4 separate regions of the Homo sapiens genome follow, and all the other regions are linked to region 1. Evidence: promoter capture Hi-C in 16 types of primary human blood cells and fetal thymus (Javierre and others, 2016). All regions are on one chromosome and are shown on one strand. The core of a region is centred on a gene start or on the middle of the fragment in contact, and the rest is flanking DNA. Distances in the headings are between cores, read along the strand shown. Region 1 holds the start of ARHGAP20 (Rho GTPase activating protein 20). Region 2 has its middle 22 kb from the start of LINC02550. Region 3 has its middle 60 kb from the start of LINC02550. Region 4 has its middle 120 kb from the start of LINC02550.

The links. The method cuts DNA at HindIII sites, captures the fragments that hold promoters and counts their contacts. A CHiCAGO score of 5 or more calls a contact.
Region 2: a fragment that was not itself captured here is called in contact with the fragment with the promoter of ARHGAP20 in region 1 in 2 of 17 cell types (M1 macrophages and M0 macrophages); the score reaches 6.8 in M1 macrophages.
Region 3: a contact is called between a fragment that was not itself captured here and the fragment with the promoter of ARHGAP20 in region 1, in 1 of 17 cell types (M2 macrophages). The highest score is 5.1, in M2 macrophages.
Region 4: a contact is called between a fragment that was not itself captured here and the fragment with the promoter of ARHGAP20 in region 1, in 1 of 17 cell types (M2 macrophages). The highest score is 6.7, in M2 macrophages.

The regions. Positions count from the first base shown.
Region 1 is chr11:110,710,631-110,714,042 of GRCh38, forward strand. ARHGAP20 (Rho GTPase activating protein 20) reads right to left here and starts at 1,807. Exons shown (of 15, transcript NM_001384657.1): 1 at 1,497-1,807. The coding sequence starts at 1,601. RefSeq lists enhancers at 26-671, 1,654-2,155 and silencers at 1,679-1,738, 1,759-1,918. The HindIII fragment of the contact is 6,153 bases long and covers 1-3,412 here.
Region 2 is chr11:111,073,266-111,076,677 of GRCh38, forward strand. No RefSeq gene overlaps it. Among named protein-coding and RNA genes, the nearest start is that of LINC02550, 22 kb to the right of the region's middle. The HindIII fragment of the contact is 1,182 bases long and covers 956-2,137 here.
Region 3 is chr11:111,035,604-111,039,015 of GRCh38, forward strand. No RefSeq gene overlaps it. Among named protein-coding and RNA genes, the nearest start is that of LINC02550, 60 kb to the right of the region's middle. The HindIII fragment of the contact is 4,083 bases long and covers 1-3,412 here.
Region 4 is chr11:110,970,987-110,974,398 of GRCh38, forward strand. No RefSeq gene overlaps it. Among named protein-coding and RNA genes, the nearest start is that of LINC02550, 120 kb to the right of the region's middle. RefSeq lists an enhancer at 463-632. The HindIII fragment of the contact is 1,025 bases long and covers 1,162-2,186 here.

The sequences.
Region 1 (3,412 bases), core at 557-3,056:
GGAAAAGCGACAAGGACAAACCGCAGCCTCAATACATCAAAGGCTGAGCTGGCACTACAGCCCATACATCATCAAGTTCACGGACACCCCTAGATGGCTCCGTGACACGGTCAAGGTCCTTGGGAACTCCCACACATTTCTATACTCGGCACACCGATCACCTCTCTTCAACTGACCTCTAGCCAACCTAAGATCCTGGTGGGAAGATTTATGAAAGGCAGTAAAATCAAGACAAGCAGGGAACCTGCGTAACCCCTTTAAGTCTCTAATGAAACAAATGCAATCCCTTAAGATATTTCTTAAGGAAAAGCTAGAAGATGCCTCTAATCGCAACTTGTTTCCAGAAAAGCTGGAAGGGCACCACTAAGACAAGGCAAAAAAAAAAAAAAAGGCAAAATATCGGAAAGTCTTATGCTGGAAGCGGGGGTGGGGAGGCGGGGGACAGGCAGACAGGGCTAGAAACACCCAAATCAATTCCTCAGGGAGCGAAACGGCAGAGGCCGGCAGCCCGCGGCCCACGTGCACTTGCTCAGGGAACCGTTCCAGCGAAACCTGACCCGGATCGGAATCCTCCCGCAGCACAGCGGCCGTGTTTATCGGAATGGAACGCTACAAGTTGTCACCTGCATCCCTCTCCCAGCTTTGACAGGGAACACGCGCTGCCCCCACGCCCACACCGACACCCGGATCCCTATCCAGCCCGGCCAGAGTCCCAGGGGCCAGGGACCAGTGCAGGGAGAAGGTCCCCCACCTCAGCCCTCAGGACCCCCAACCACAGCCCACCCGCCCCCACCCTGCTCGGTTCTAGGCCCAGCCGAACCTACATGTCCCCGTAGTGTCGAGCGTTATCATCCACAGTCGCCCCTCAAACTGTGACCCCCACCTGGGAGACCCGGAATCATCCAGGACCCTGGTGTGGGGGGCAGTACTCCCCATATCTGCCCCCCGAAAACTGCTATGGAGCAGCCGCGCCTCGGCGGGCAGGTGAGGGGGCCGAGCCCACCAGCGCCGCAGCCCCGCTGCCTACCTTCTTCAGCGCCGGCTGCCGCTCCCGGGCAGACATCGCCGGCCCTGACTTTGGGGCTGACACCGCCAAAGGGCAGTCAGTGCTCGCCCAGGCCACTTCGGGAGGCCCAGGGGCACGGCGAGGGGTCGGGGAAAGGCGATCGCCCACTACAGCCCGCGCGCCTAGACTGAGGGAGGAGCCGGGCTGCAGAACCGGCGGCGGATGGAGACGGGAGGGAGGCTGCGAGGTCGCTCGAGGAGAGACTAAGGCTCTAGAAACGGAGAAGCGGGCGCTCTGCGGGAGGCGGCGGCGCTGCCGCTGGCCGTCAAGGGCGGGAAGTGTTCTGGGACTCTCATTAGGGGCCGCGAGCCTCGAGCGTCAAATTCCCGCGGCGTCCGCCTAGCGCGCTGCTGTGGCGGGCGCGGAGGGCGCGCGCCGGCAGTGGGGGCTGCGGCGGCGGAGGGCACGGGCCCCCGCTCAGCGTCCTCACCTTCTTGGTGCAGCTGCCTCCCGCGAGCCGAGACACTCCTGTCAGGGAAGAGGAGCGCCCCGGCTGTCCCCCTAGAGTCTCCTGCTGGGGGGACATCGCTTCCATGAAGAAAATCTTCAAACAAATCCCAGCCCAGGAGGAGGCTACACGATCATGTCCGCGGGCTGCCGGCCGGAGGGGCGAGGACGCGCGGGCGGAGGCGCGGCTGCCGTGCTCAGGCAGGGAGCCGAGCTCCGGGTGCTCGCCGCGCGCCTCCCGTCGGGGCCATGTACCTCCGCCTGCGCTCGACACCGCGGGCTGGAGGCGAGTGCAGCGGCGACAGCCCGTCAGCGCCGCGGCCCGCCCCGCCTCGGGCCCGCCCCCTCCGCTCCGGGCGCCCTGCGCCGGGGCCCGCCCCCGCAGCCCTCCTCAGCCCTCCTCCAGCCTGGGCCCTCCTAGCCTCGTCCCAGCCTGCGGCGCGCCTGGCGGGCGTCTCTCTATATATGTTAGCACACCGGCCACCGGCTGACCTTTTCGGTCTGTGACTCCGCGTGGGTGCAGCCCGCAGGAGCTCATCGGCCTGTGTCACGCACGGGGGCCTCTAGTGCACGGACACGCGCCTCTCCCGCCACCTGCCCACTCCCACCAGACCCCATCCCTTCCCGCGCCGTGCCCGCGGCGGAAGGCGCCCCTGCAGCGCGTGCATCCGCGGAGCGGTGGCGACCTCAGCCTGAGCAGAGGAGTTGCAGTGATTCCTGCCTCGCTTTCAGCGGACTGCGGAGGGAATCCCCCACCCCACCCCACTGGGGATAGGGTGGCACGTCGCAGAGTGTCGCAGCTGTACAAATTTGGAAGCCCACAGCATCGCCTGACCTCTTGTGCAATCCCGAACGCTAGCCTGTTCGGGTAACCCTGAGTGGGCTTCTGCAGCCGGTCATGTCAGCGGCCCCTGCACATTTGCACCCGCGGTTTCCGCTGTCTGCAGGCTGCAGAGACGGGGGCATTCCAAACGTGAAAGAGCAATGAAGGAAAATGCAGACAGAGCGAGGACGCCGAAATTTGGCTAAGCTATTGAGAAGGCTACAATATGTGGAAGTGTTTATCAGATATCTGCGCCGAGAGCATAACTTCCTGTCAGCCCAAATAGAGGCAAAAATATTTTAAAGGCCAAAGAATAATCAGAGGGAGAGGATTTGGAGCTGACCCGCGTTGAGCTGAGTGTTGCTGCACTTTGCGGGGCTGGTTGACTGGTACGGATGATTCGGTAGATGGCATTCTTCCCTTGGAGTCAGGACTAGAGAAGCAGTGGCGGATTAGTGAGGAAGGACACCACGCTATGATATTAGGTTGTGGAAGGGGTTTGGTTTGCTTTTGTGGTAAGAAGAAAAAAATCGAGGTTCCTGCCAGGTTAGGCTGTTATTAGGACAGGTTGTAGAAGAATAGGGCTCTGGCCGGCTCTGTTCCAAGGAAGGGATGCTGTCCAACACACACTCGCGCGCGCACACATCACCACCATGCCCAGGAATGGTTTATTGTGGAAATAATAGGGGGAAAATGTTCCAGCCCGTTTTAAGCCTTGTCCACCTCACACTGTTTAAAGTAGGCTTACATAGGCTTTATAAATCACACACACGTATAAATCACACACACGTATAAATCACATGTATGATTTGTAAATCATCTATTATTGTGTTTATGTATGTGTGCATATACACACACAGTTTTTCATGGCTACTCTCTTTTTGCAGCTGAGACCCATGTGCAGCGACAGGACTTTGCCCCCACCATAGAGTTTGTCATGAATTCTACACGCAGAGGGCTTTGCAGTTCCTTTCATTCCTTGCTGAAATCATCCACTTACAACTCGTTAGCCTCTTTTGGTTCCTATCATAAATGCACGCTCCCAATTTTCCTTACTCTGTTTTATTTCGATAACA
Region 2 (3,412 bases), core at 297-2,796, 360 kb after region 1:
ACTGAGGGAAGAAATCCCTAAATGTCCAAAACAGTATAAGGTGATAGCTCATGCCATAAGATCACTGACTAGAAGATGGATCAGGAGCCATCCAATTTCACACGACTGGGGCCAGAATCAGCTTTTTTTTTTTTTTTTTTTTTTTGTGAGACAGAGTCTCACTCTGTCTCCCAGGCTGGAGTGCAGTGGCAAAATCTCAGCTCACTGCAAGCTCCACCTCCGGGGTTCACGCCATTCTCCTGCCTCAGCCTCCTTAGTAGCTGGGACTACAGGCGCCTGCCACCATGCCCAGCTAGTTTTGTTTTGTTTTGTATTTTTAGTAGAGACAAGGTTTCACCATGTTAGCCAGGATGGTCTTGATCTCCTGACTTCGTGATCCGCCCGCCTTGGCCTCCCAAAGTGCTGGGATTACAGGCGTGAGCCACCGCGCCCGGCCCAGAATCAGCTTTAAAGTTACACGACAAGAGTGAAGAACAACACAGCCTCGAAGAAAGATATGATATTTCTCACGTTTAGAAAAACTAAACTATTTTTCAAGAAGCTGAAGTAGGAAAAAAAGAATGAATGAAATGCACAAACAAAAATAGTTAAACATTCTAAAGAAAGTGTGCAAAATATTCTCCTTAAGAAAAATGTCAGATCAAGTCCCTAACTGGATGCGTACTAAAGAAAGTAGATCTAGCATAGATAATGGTCACTGGGAGCTGAACAGAAAGAGAGAGTCCAATGGGAGATCATTAAAATGATCATTCAAAAAAGGGCTCTGAAGAAACTGATTCATATTCCCAAGCTAAATCTTTCCTTATAAACCCTTGAAGAAGAAAGTAACCAAATATATATTGCATTTGATGAACAAGACCAAAAAAAAAAAAAAAAACTTAAGGATTATATCAAAACTCTCTAGAGGAAGAATGCATCTTGGGAAACAAATTATGCAAAGATTGAAAGATTAGAAAGCTTAAATTTAAAATAATGACTGAACCCTAACACAGAAATGAAAATAAAACCTCACAGGTAGAAGGAAAAGACAATCTAAAGATAAAAGAGAAATGTCCCTGCAGATGAGAGCATGATCCATACCCCTGAGTACCTGGATATTGAAATGAGACAATGCTAGGGGAAGGAATGAAGAGACCTCACATGTCCTTTGAAAAACCAGACTATTGCTGTTGAAAACAAAACTCAAAATATGTGGTTAGTAATTCAGAGCCCAACAACCTGGGAGAAGAAGGTGCACACACTGGACCAAAATTAACTGAAGCAGATGTTACATCTGAGCTTTCAGGAAGGGTATTTGAAGTTTTGGTAATCCAGTTACATCATTTGGGCAGCTTGTGAAGACCAGGGAATCTTTTGGATTATTAGATCACCAATGGCAGAAGCCATGTTCAACTTAAATGGCCCAGGAATCCAGGATCCAAAGCACTGAGTGTGGACCAGGTGTCCCCTCCATAGGATCCAGATCCCAGGATGATAATCGCTTCATAATCCTAAGCCAATTTTTCCTCTAGATGGCTAAGATAGAGTTTACCTTATTGCTCACAATGTCAGTTATCTCTCTAGACCAGCCTAACTCAAAAGTTTTAATACACTTTCCTTTGATAGAGAATAAGCTCCAACATTCTCAAAATTGAAGATCAGTAGAAAGGATATTGACATGCTCTTGGAAGTTTATGTCCTCAGGTCCTTTTCTCCCACCTGAAAGTGGAGCAGCTAGCCCAGGCTTCCTTCTTTTGTCTCAGTATCCAGGCAGGTGTCCCATATTGGAAATGGATTTATGGGCCAAGTTCAAGAGAGAAATCTTCTGTTCCTCCCTCTACTCCAATAAACCCATATAAAGCCCCTTCAAATTACCTTCCACCCAGGGGATATTTGAACCATTCTATTCCAGTTGCACTGTAATGGAATGCATCTACCCCTCAAGGAGGTGTCCTTGTCATCCTTGTCCAATGAATGTTCTCCCCACCACTGCTTTGGAAAGAAAGAGTGAAAAACGGTGGTGCTGATTTCACCTTCAAGTGAGCCTTCTTACAGAGATCTAAAAAGAGGAAAAGTTTCCATTTTCTAGGTCATTTTGAATGTTTCCCTTTTTAGTTAAACTGCTTTTGTTTAAATGTTGTACATCTATTCAAACTGAAGCTTGGTAGAAGTATAAATCTTAGGGCTGTATTTCTGAGTGAAGATGACTTATAAATTAGGATCTTATGAATAAATTAGTTTATTAATCTTAAGAATAAATTATTTATTAGTTTATAGGTAATGTGTTGTATTTTGGTTTGATTAATCAGTCTACCTATTAGTTTATAGGTAATATACGGTATTTTGGTTTGATTAATCAGACATAAATTAGGATCTTATGAATACATTATTTTAGTTTATTAGTTTAATAAATTATTTAGTTTATTAGTTTATAGGTAATGTATTTTGGTTTGATTACAGTCTACTAAAATAGGCAGTAATAGCCATTTTGCATGGGCAGTTCATCAACTAGATACATTTGAATTTTTTTTTTTTTTTTTGAGACAGAGTCTCGCTTTGTCACCAGGCTGGAGTGCAGTGGCGCGATCTTGTCTCACTGCAACCTCGGCCTCCTGGGTTCAAGCAATTCTCCTACCTCAGCCTCCCAAGTAACTGAGACTACAGGCGTGTGCCACCATGCCCAGCTAATTTTTTGTATTTTTTTTAGTAGAGATGGGGTTTCACCATGTTAGCCAGGATGGTCTCGATCTCCTGACCTCATGGTCCGCCAGCCTCGGCCTCCCAAAGTGCTGGGATTACAGGCATGAGCCACTGTGCTCGGCCATACATTTGAAATTTTAAAGACTATTTCTATTTACTAAGATCTGTATTTACCATAGTTATGAAAAAAAGTGAAAGTAACTCAATATTTACATTTTTATTAATTTTAAATAAACAAATATTAGTTCTATCCTTCTCCTTTAATGATGGCTTGAAGGGAGAACAGAGATGAGAGCTGATATTTCCTTAATGTCTTCAGCACACATACTTTTCATGGTGGGCACTAGATCCTCAAACACTATTGAATACAAATGTGAATAAATAGATCAATGAGTTTTTTTAAAAAACGTTCTTGTTTTTAATCTCCTTATCTAATTTTACATCTATCATAAAATATTTTTCTAAGTTACTAAGTCAACCATTCTGAAATGTAGCACTTAGCATTTCCTGGTGGATTTATAGACAAGATCAGTCTTCATTCTGGGTTTCCCACTCTCAAACTTTGCTGCTGAGTGCGTTTGATGGTTAACACTACCAATTCATTTTAAGACTGCTGAGTATAATTCCAGTGTTAATAATTATAAGAGCTAGCATTTAATGAATGTCAGTACCAGACACTGAGTGCCAGACACTATGCTAACCATCTTCAATGTATTATTTTCTTTCATTTCTC
Region 3 (3,412 bases), core at 276-2,775, 320 kb after region 1:
ATTTGTTTGCTCACCATAAAATAGCTTCATAATGGAGTACTACATTCTTGGCATTTATTCAGTCAATGTAAAAAGAGCCATATAGAGAGATTTTCTATTATTGTTCTAACACTTCCACTGAGAACATTGTTGCCTAGTTTCCTCATGTAAGACACTCCCTGACTGATGATGTTTTATTTCTTGATATTGGTGCTTGTTTCATGGCTGTGTTTGCTTGTGAAAATTCATGGAGTTGTAAACTTATGATTTGGGACCATGAGCCAGCAGATCTGACAATGCTAAAGATACTGTGGTGCATACGACTCTGGTTTTAGACTCTGTCACAACTAGAAGAATCCCAGAACCCTCAGTGTGTAGAACCAGGCCATCCTTCTCTGTCAGAGAAGTAGCAGAGTCTGCCAGGCTACAGGGCCCTAGTGTATTTGGAATTACACATCATTATGTGGGCATTATCAGATCCACCATGTCAGAAGGGTGAGTGCAGACAGTAGTAATATATCATACCCAATGGAAATGATCAACTCAGGATGGGGCCTGGGCAGTTGTATTAGTCTGTTCTCATGCTGCTAATAAAAACATACCTGAGACTGGGTAATTTATAAAGCAAAGAGATTTAATGAACTCAGTTCAGCATGGCTGGGGAGGCCTCAGGAAACTTACAATCATGGTGGAATGGGAAACAAACACGTCCTTCTTCACCTGGCAGCAGGAGAGAGAAGTACAGAGCAAAAGGTGGGGAAATCTCCTTATAAAACCATCAGATCTTGTGAGAACTCACTCACTATCATGAAAACAACATGGAGATAACTGCCCCCATTATTCAATTACCCCCTCCCACTGGGCCTCTCCCACAACACATGGGGATTATAGGAACTACAATTCAAGATGAGATTTGGGTGGGGACACAGCCAAAGCATAACAGCAGTCCAAGAAGCACAAATTAAGAATTTCGAGCAATTAGACCTGGTACAGTTTAGATATTTGTCCCTCCTCAAATCTCAGGTTGAAAGGTAATCCCCAGTGTTGGAGGTGGGGCCTGGTGGGAGGTGTTTGGGTCATGGGGTAGATTCCTTCCAGTTTGGTGCTGTCCTTGCAATACTGAGTGAGTTCTCATGAGATCTGGTGGTTTGAAAGCATATGGCATCTCCCCAACACCAACCTCCTTGCTCCCTCTCTCACCATGTGCCATGTGTACTCTTGCTTCACCTTCCTCCATGAGTAAAAGTTCCCTGAAGCCATCCCAGAAACTGAGCAGATGCCGGTGCCATGTTTCCTTTATAGCCTGCAGAGCCATGAGCTAATTAAACCTCTTTTCTATATAAGTTACCCCTGGTAATCACCAATCTAGTTTCAGGTCTTACCTTTAAGTTTTCAATCGATTTTGAGTTGACATTTGTGTATAGTGTAAAATAAGGCCACAATTTTATTCTTTTGCATGTGTATATACAGTGTCCCTCAGATCATTTGTTGAAGAAACTGTTCTTTCCTCACTGTGTATTCTTGAAACCCGTGTTGAAGATCTGTTTACTGAATATTGATGATTTTATTTCTGGGCTCACAAGTCTGTTCCATTGGTTTATATGTCTGTCCTTATGCCCATACCATTCTGTTTTAATGGTGATGTGGTTCATGGTAAAGAAGTATCCTATGATCACACACCCATTGCTGCACCCTCTTTGCCAAAAATTTGGTCCATTGGTCCTGAAGCAATGTTATGCAAGATCCCATGCTGGTAAGTTAGGCATCCTGCAAGTCCTTAGGTGTAGTGCTGGGAGAGGTATGGAGGGCAGGCAGTGTGAACCCATATCCAGAGTAGGTATTATCAGTTCCATAAGGAGTAATTACTCCCCCTCTGTAGGGTAAAAGGGCTATGATGTAATCAACCTGCTCCCAGTGGCTGACTGGTTTCCTCATGTGATGATGCCACGTTAAGGGTTTAGTAGAGTGTCTCCTGCTAACAGTTTGGGCACTCAGCTGTGGCAGTGGCTAGACCAGCCTTGGTAAGAGGGAGTCTATGCTGTTGGGCATAGCCTCCATCCATAAATGGCTCATTTTTCAAGCACTAGGGTGGCTGAGGAGAGAGCCTGGCTGACATCCATGTGACAAGTTGACCTCTTTGCCTGGTTGTTGAGTGCCTCTTCTCTGGTGGGCATTAATGTGAGGCAACAGAGACATGCCTGATTTGTTCTCCCTCCCATTGCCCATCCACATGTCTCACCCCCAGAATTCCATGTCTTTTATGTTTTAGTCTTGCTTCTTACAGACTCTAATCACCCAAAAACGTCATTTTCTGTGTTCATCCCAACCTCAGGCCACTTGTCTCTCAACACAAAGTAAATGATCAAATTCACTGCTTGCAACTATGCCCATTGACAGGATTTCCCTCTGGTACTGCCTATGTGGGTCACCTCTGAGTCCAGCTAAATGGCAGTAGCAGTTCACTTTGGGCTAGCACCTATATAGTAAGCCCCAATATTTTTGGGGGAGTTGGTCATAGAGAACCCCCTGTGAGGACATAGGTGTGAGGTGAACAGAGGTAGGTGACATAGAAATATGGGTCTTGTGTTAGGCCATTCTTGCATTGCTATAAAGAAATACCTGAGACTAGGAATGCAACCAGTCCACAACTAGTCCACAGCTAGCCTAGAAAAGTGAAATAGCCTATTAAAGACTTAGCTAAGACATTGGCTGTAGGATGGCTACTGGCAGTGTTTGAGTGCTCTTCTTCAAGATGACGTATATGCATACTAGTTTGTGTATGGTGCTGAGTACCCAGTAGCTGCAATGCACATGTCACAAAATCAAGAGATGAATATAAGATTAGTCCTTCTTATCATCACTGCCACAGACCTACTTATGGGATTTTTGCTTCCTATATCCACACACTTGGATTCTGCTAGACTAGATGTCCTGGTTGTTGGGATGGGGGGTGAGATGGGAAGGGACCTTTCCACTAAGAGATGTTTAAAGATCCCAAGTTATGGCCCCTACCTGTTCTCTTTGGGATCCTCATACTGGTGGACCAATATGCAAAGTAAAGAGTATTGAGGTGAGCATATGCAACTCTGGTTACCTTGAGAAGCTAGGGTTCTACAACACAATGGAGGCAGAGAGCTCAAGAGACTCTTTATGGTGAATCCATGCCCAGTATTCCATGCCCAGCAATAACGGTAAACAGACAATTACAGCATCCAAAGCCCCAAAATGCCAAGGCAACCTAAGGACTCAGACATCTTGGAGACAGAGGTCTGGGTTGTCCCACCTGGCAAGCAAACTCCACCAGATGAACTACTGGTTGAGGGTGAAGATTGACATTGGAGGAGACCCTGTAATACAGCCTTGGAACTTGTTGGAATGAAGCTGGTTCCATTAACTCACCTACACTAAGTTACTTGTAGAGATTGTGGCCTGG
Region 4 (3,412 bases), core at 424-2,923, 260 kb after region 1:
TTCATTATATTAACAAATAAATGGGAGAAATTGATGTATAGTTAGGATAATCTCTGTAATAAACAGACTCAAATTGATGCTTATTTTCCACTTGCGTAACAATACGTGGCAGCTGAAAGCCTCCTCTGCATAGTCACGCAGAGACCCCGACTATTGGAGGCTCTGTCATCTTTACTTTGAGGCTTTGATTAATGTACCAGAGATTATCTCCATTCCAACAAGCCAGAGGAGAAAGCAAAGCATGGAGGAATGCCTCATGGAGTTTATGGTCAAGCTTCCAATCAGTGCACATCACTTCTGCTCACATTCCGGTGGCTGGAACTCAACCACAGGGCCACTCCTTACTGTAACAGAAGTCAGAACATGCAGTCTAGTTGTGTGCCCAGGAAGTGGAGGAGGCCATGAATTTTGATAAGCAGCTAGTGGCCTGTGGCACATGTGATGAGCAGGCTGGAACCAGATCTTATCTTATCCTCTTGAAGCAAAACATCTTGGCCCACATTTAAAAAAAATAGGTATATAAGTCTCTTCTGCTTGTGTAAGCAAAAGCATGTAAATAGAATACTTATGCAGAAAAAAATGAGGTTAGTTTTTGCATCTGTTCATGGTGTCACCATGTATTCTGCCTTCAAAAGGAGAAGCTTGGGTGCCATCAACAGATTCTCCCTCTATTTTATTCCAAATCCTTAGGTCTGATCTGTCATCTAGTGTACACTATAAGACTGAACTCTAGCCCCTTTTCTCTGACTCCGTTGCTTCTCTCTTCTTTTAGGACCAGGCTGTTAACTTTAAGGGATGCAATAGCTTACAAAATGGTCTTCGGACCACTAGTCCCCAGTGCAATTGATTAAACATCTTTCTTCCATCAAAGTTATATTTTAAAAACAAAGTCACTAGGTCCTATCCCAGGTTAATAAAGTAAAACAAACAAAATGCAAACACACTTCTTCTTGGCCATCCTAGATTTTACAGATAAAAATCCAAACTCTCCAGCTGGGCATCACAGCTGGCATCTAAGTGCCTTTCTAGACTTACCTGTCTACTTTCACTCTATCTCATATCTTAATTTCCTGCCTTCATTGTCTTCTTGTGAAATTCCAGTTCAGATTAGGCCTATGACTCTATTCCATTTCAATTTATGATTCAATGCCTTTTTTTACAAGCTTTGCACAAAATAAAATCTCTCCCCTCTTTACTTCCTAAATTACCTTCATTTTTAAGGAACCAGTTGAAGTATTCCCTCTTCTATGAAGATTTTTAAATAACTGTCACAGCAGAGTTGGCTGATCCATCCTCTGTGAGCCATGGCACTTTTCCCAATTCAATTTTCACTTCGAAAACTCAAAGTGAGATAATTGCCTAGGCAAAACTTTCTCCTGAGAGTAAAGAACTATATCAAATAGTAGCAAGGAAACTGAGACAATTTTCTAGAACTTAAATGCATTCTTTCCCCTTGTGATTCTGCAAAAATTATCATTATCACCATCATCACCATCACCATCATTATCACCATTACCATCATCATCATCCAGCCAGTTTTCATCCACCCTGTCTACAACATACATACATATCCCAGCACTCTCTTTCTTTGTTCTGCCTTGGGAATCAGTAACCAGACAGCCCAATTTTGCAAGATTATCTTATTCCTCAAAAAGTTTACCAAGTGTCCCAAAACTTCCTGTTGGAACAACATATACTTCACCTTTGGGCCTTTTAGCCAATTTGATTACTACTTAGAACAACAAATAAGACTTCCTGAGACTTCTCTCAGCCACACAAGGCCAAGATGCCACAGAGCTCAGAGAGTAATTTTGCTGCATCACGGTAGTGCCTGTCTCTGTTGAGCAATAGCACTGCTAAATGCTGATATTCAGCTCTGACTCAGAACCGAGGGCTCTGGTCTAGGGATAGGAGTATGAGAGACATGGGGGCTTGTTTTTCATAAACATTCCCTGCTCTTTGTATATCTGGTAAGTGATACAGTACATGTCCAGACTGTCTGAATATCTAATCTCCGCTTTTCCTTCCCACCTGAGCCCTTGATCTCTTCCCAGTCCATTTGGGCCATTAGCCCATCTGAAACTCAAGATTCTCCCAACATGTAAAACATGTTGTAAAATCTTTTTAGTGAAACACAGCTTATTTTCTATTTTAGGAAATTATTTTGAGAGTATTAGACTGCTTTAAGCTTTACTTCCTTTCCTTATAAGATGAGGCACACATTGGCGCTTTATACATTTCATTTTTAAATCTAACAACATCTTCAGAGTTCATATTATAATTTAGTTTTACAGATAAGGAAATAGAGGCTGAAATCCTTTATTCCCAAGGTCACATGGCCAAGTGATAAGTAAACAACTGAGCCTGCCATCCAAACCCAGTTCTATAGAACTATAAGCCTTGGCATTTTCCAAAGGGCTCATACTATTTTGATATTGACATTTTGGTGCCAAGGCCCCAAAATGATGGGGCTCACAGGATGAGAGACAGGGCAGGGCTTACTCATAGCATAGAGGATATGTCAGGGATTTCTTTTGTAGACATCACTAAGTAATAAATAGCAGTGTTTTGATAATTTGATACGCTACTTTAATATGGCTCCATCAAAAAGGTGCTGCTTTGTTCTGCTAATCCACTACTATCTGAATCAGAGGGCACACACAATACAAGAGCTGGAAGGATCCATTTGGAAATGATTTATTTTAGCCCCTTCCTGCTGCTGCTAAGAAGAGCAGAGAAGAGATCTGCCAAAGGTCACAAAGGCAGTTGGGGAAAGAACTTAGTCTAGAGCCTGGCTTCCTGTTACGGCCTCTCAGGACTCAACATTTCCCTACCTTGCACACAAAGTCCTGTCCAGGCCAGCCTACACTGCTCTCTGCCTTCTGAACTGGCTCACCATAAACCATCTCCCAAAGCATGTTCTGGGACTCATGCTCCCAGAACTCATGCCTCCTTATTTATGCAAGAGTTGATATTACAAGTCTTACAAAGGCATACAATTTAACCACATTTAATCAGTTACCTCAATTAAGAGAACAAAGTTAAGTGAAGTTGGGGATAGTTGGAGAGAGTGAAAATAAACTCGGAAAAATGGAAAAGTAGAAAGTCGGCCGGGCGCGGTGGCTCATGCCTGTAATCCCAGCACTTTGGGAGGCCGAGGCGGGTGGATCATGAGGTCAGGAGATCGAGACCATCCTGGCTAACAAGGTGAAACCCCGTCTCTACTAAAAATACAAAAAATTAGCCGGGCGCGGTGGCGGGCGCCTGTAGTCCCAGCTACTCGGGAGGCTGAGGCAGGAGAATGGCGTGAACCCGGGAAGCGGAGCTTGCAGTGAGCCGAGATTGCGCCACTGCAGTCCGCAGTCCGGCCTGGGCGACAGAGCGAGACTCCGTCTCAAAAAAAAAAAAAAAA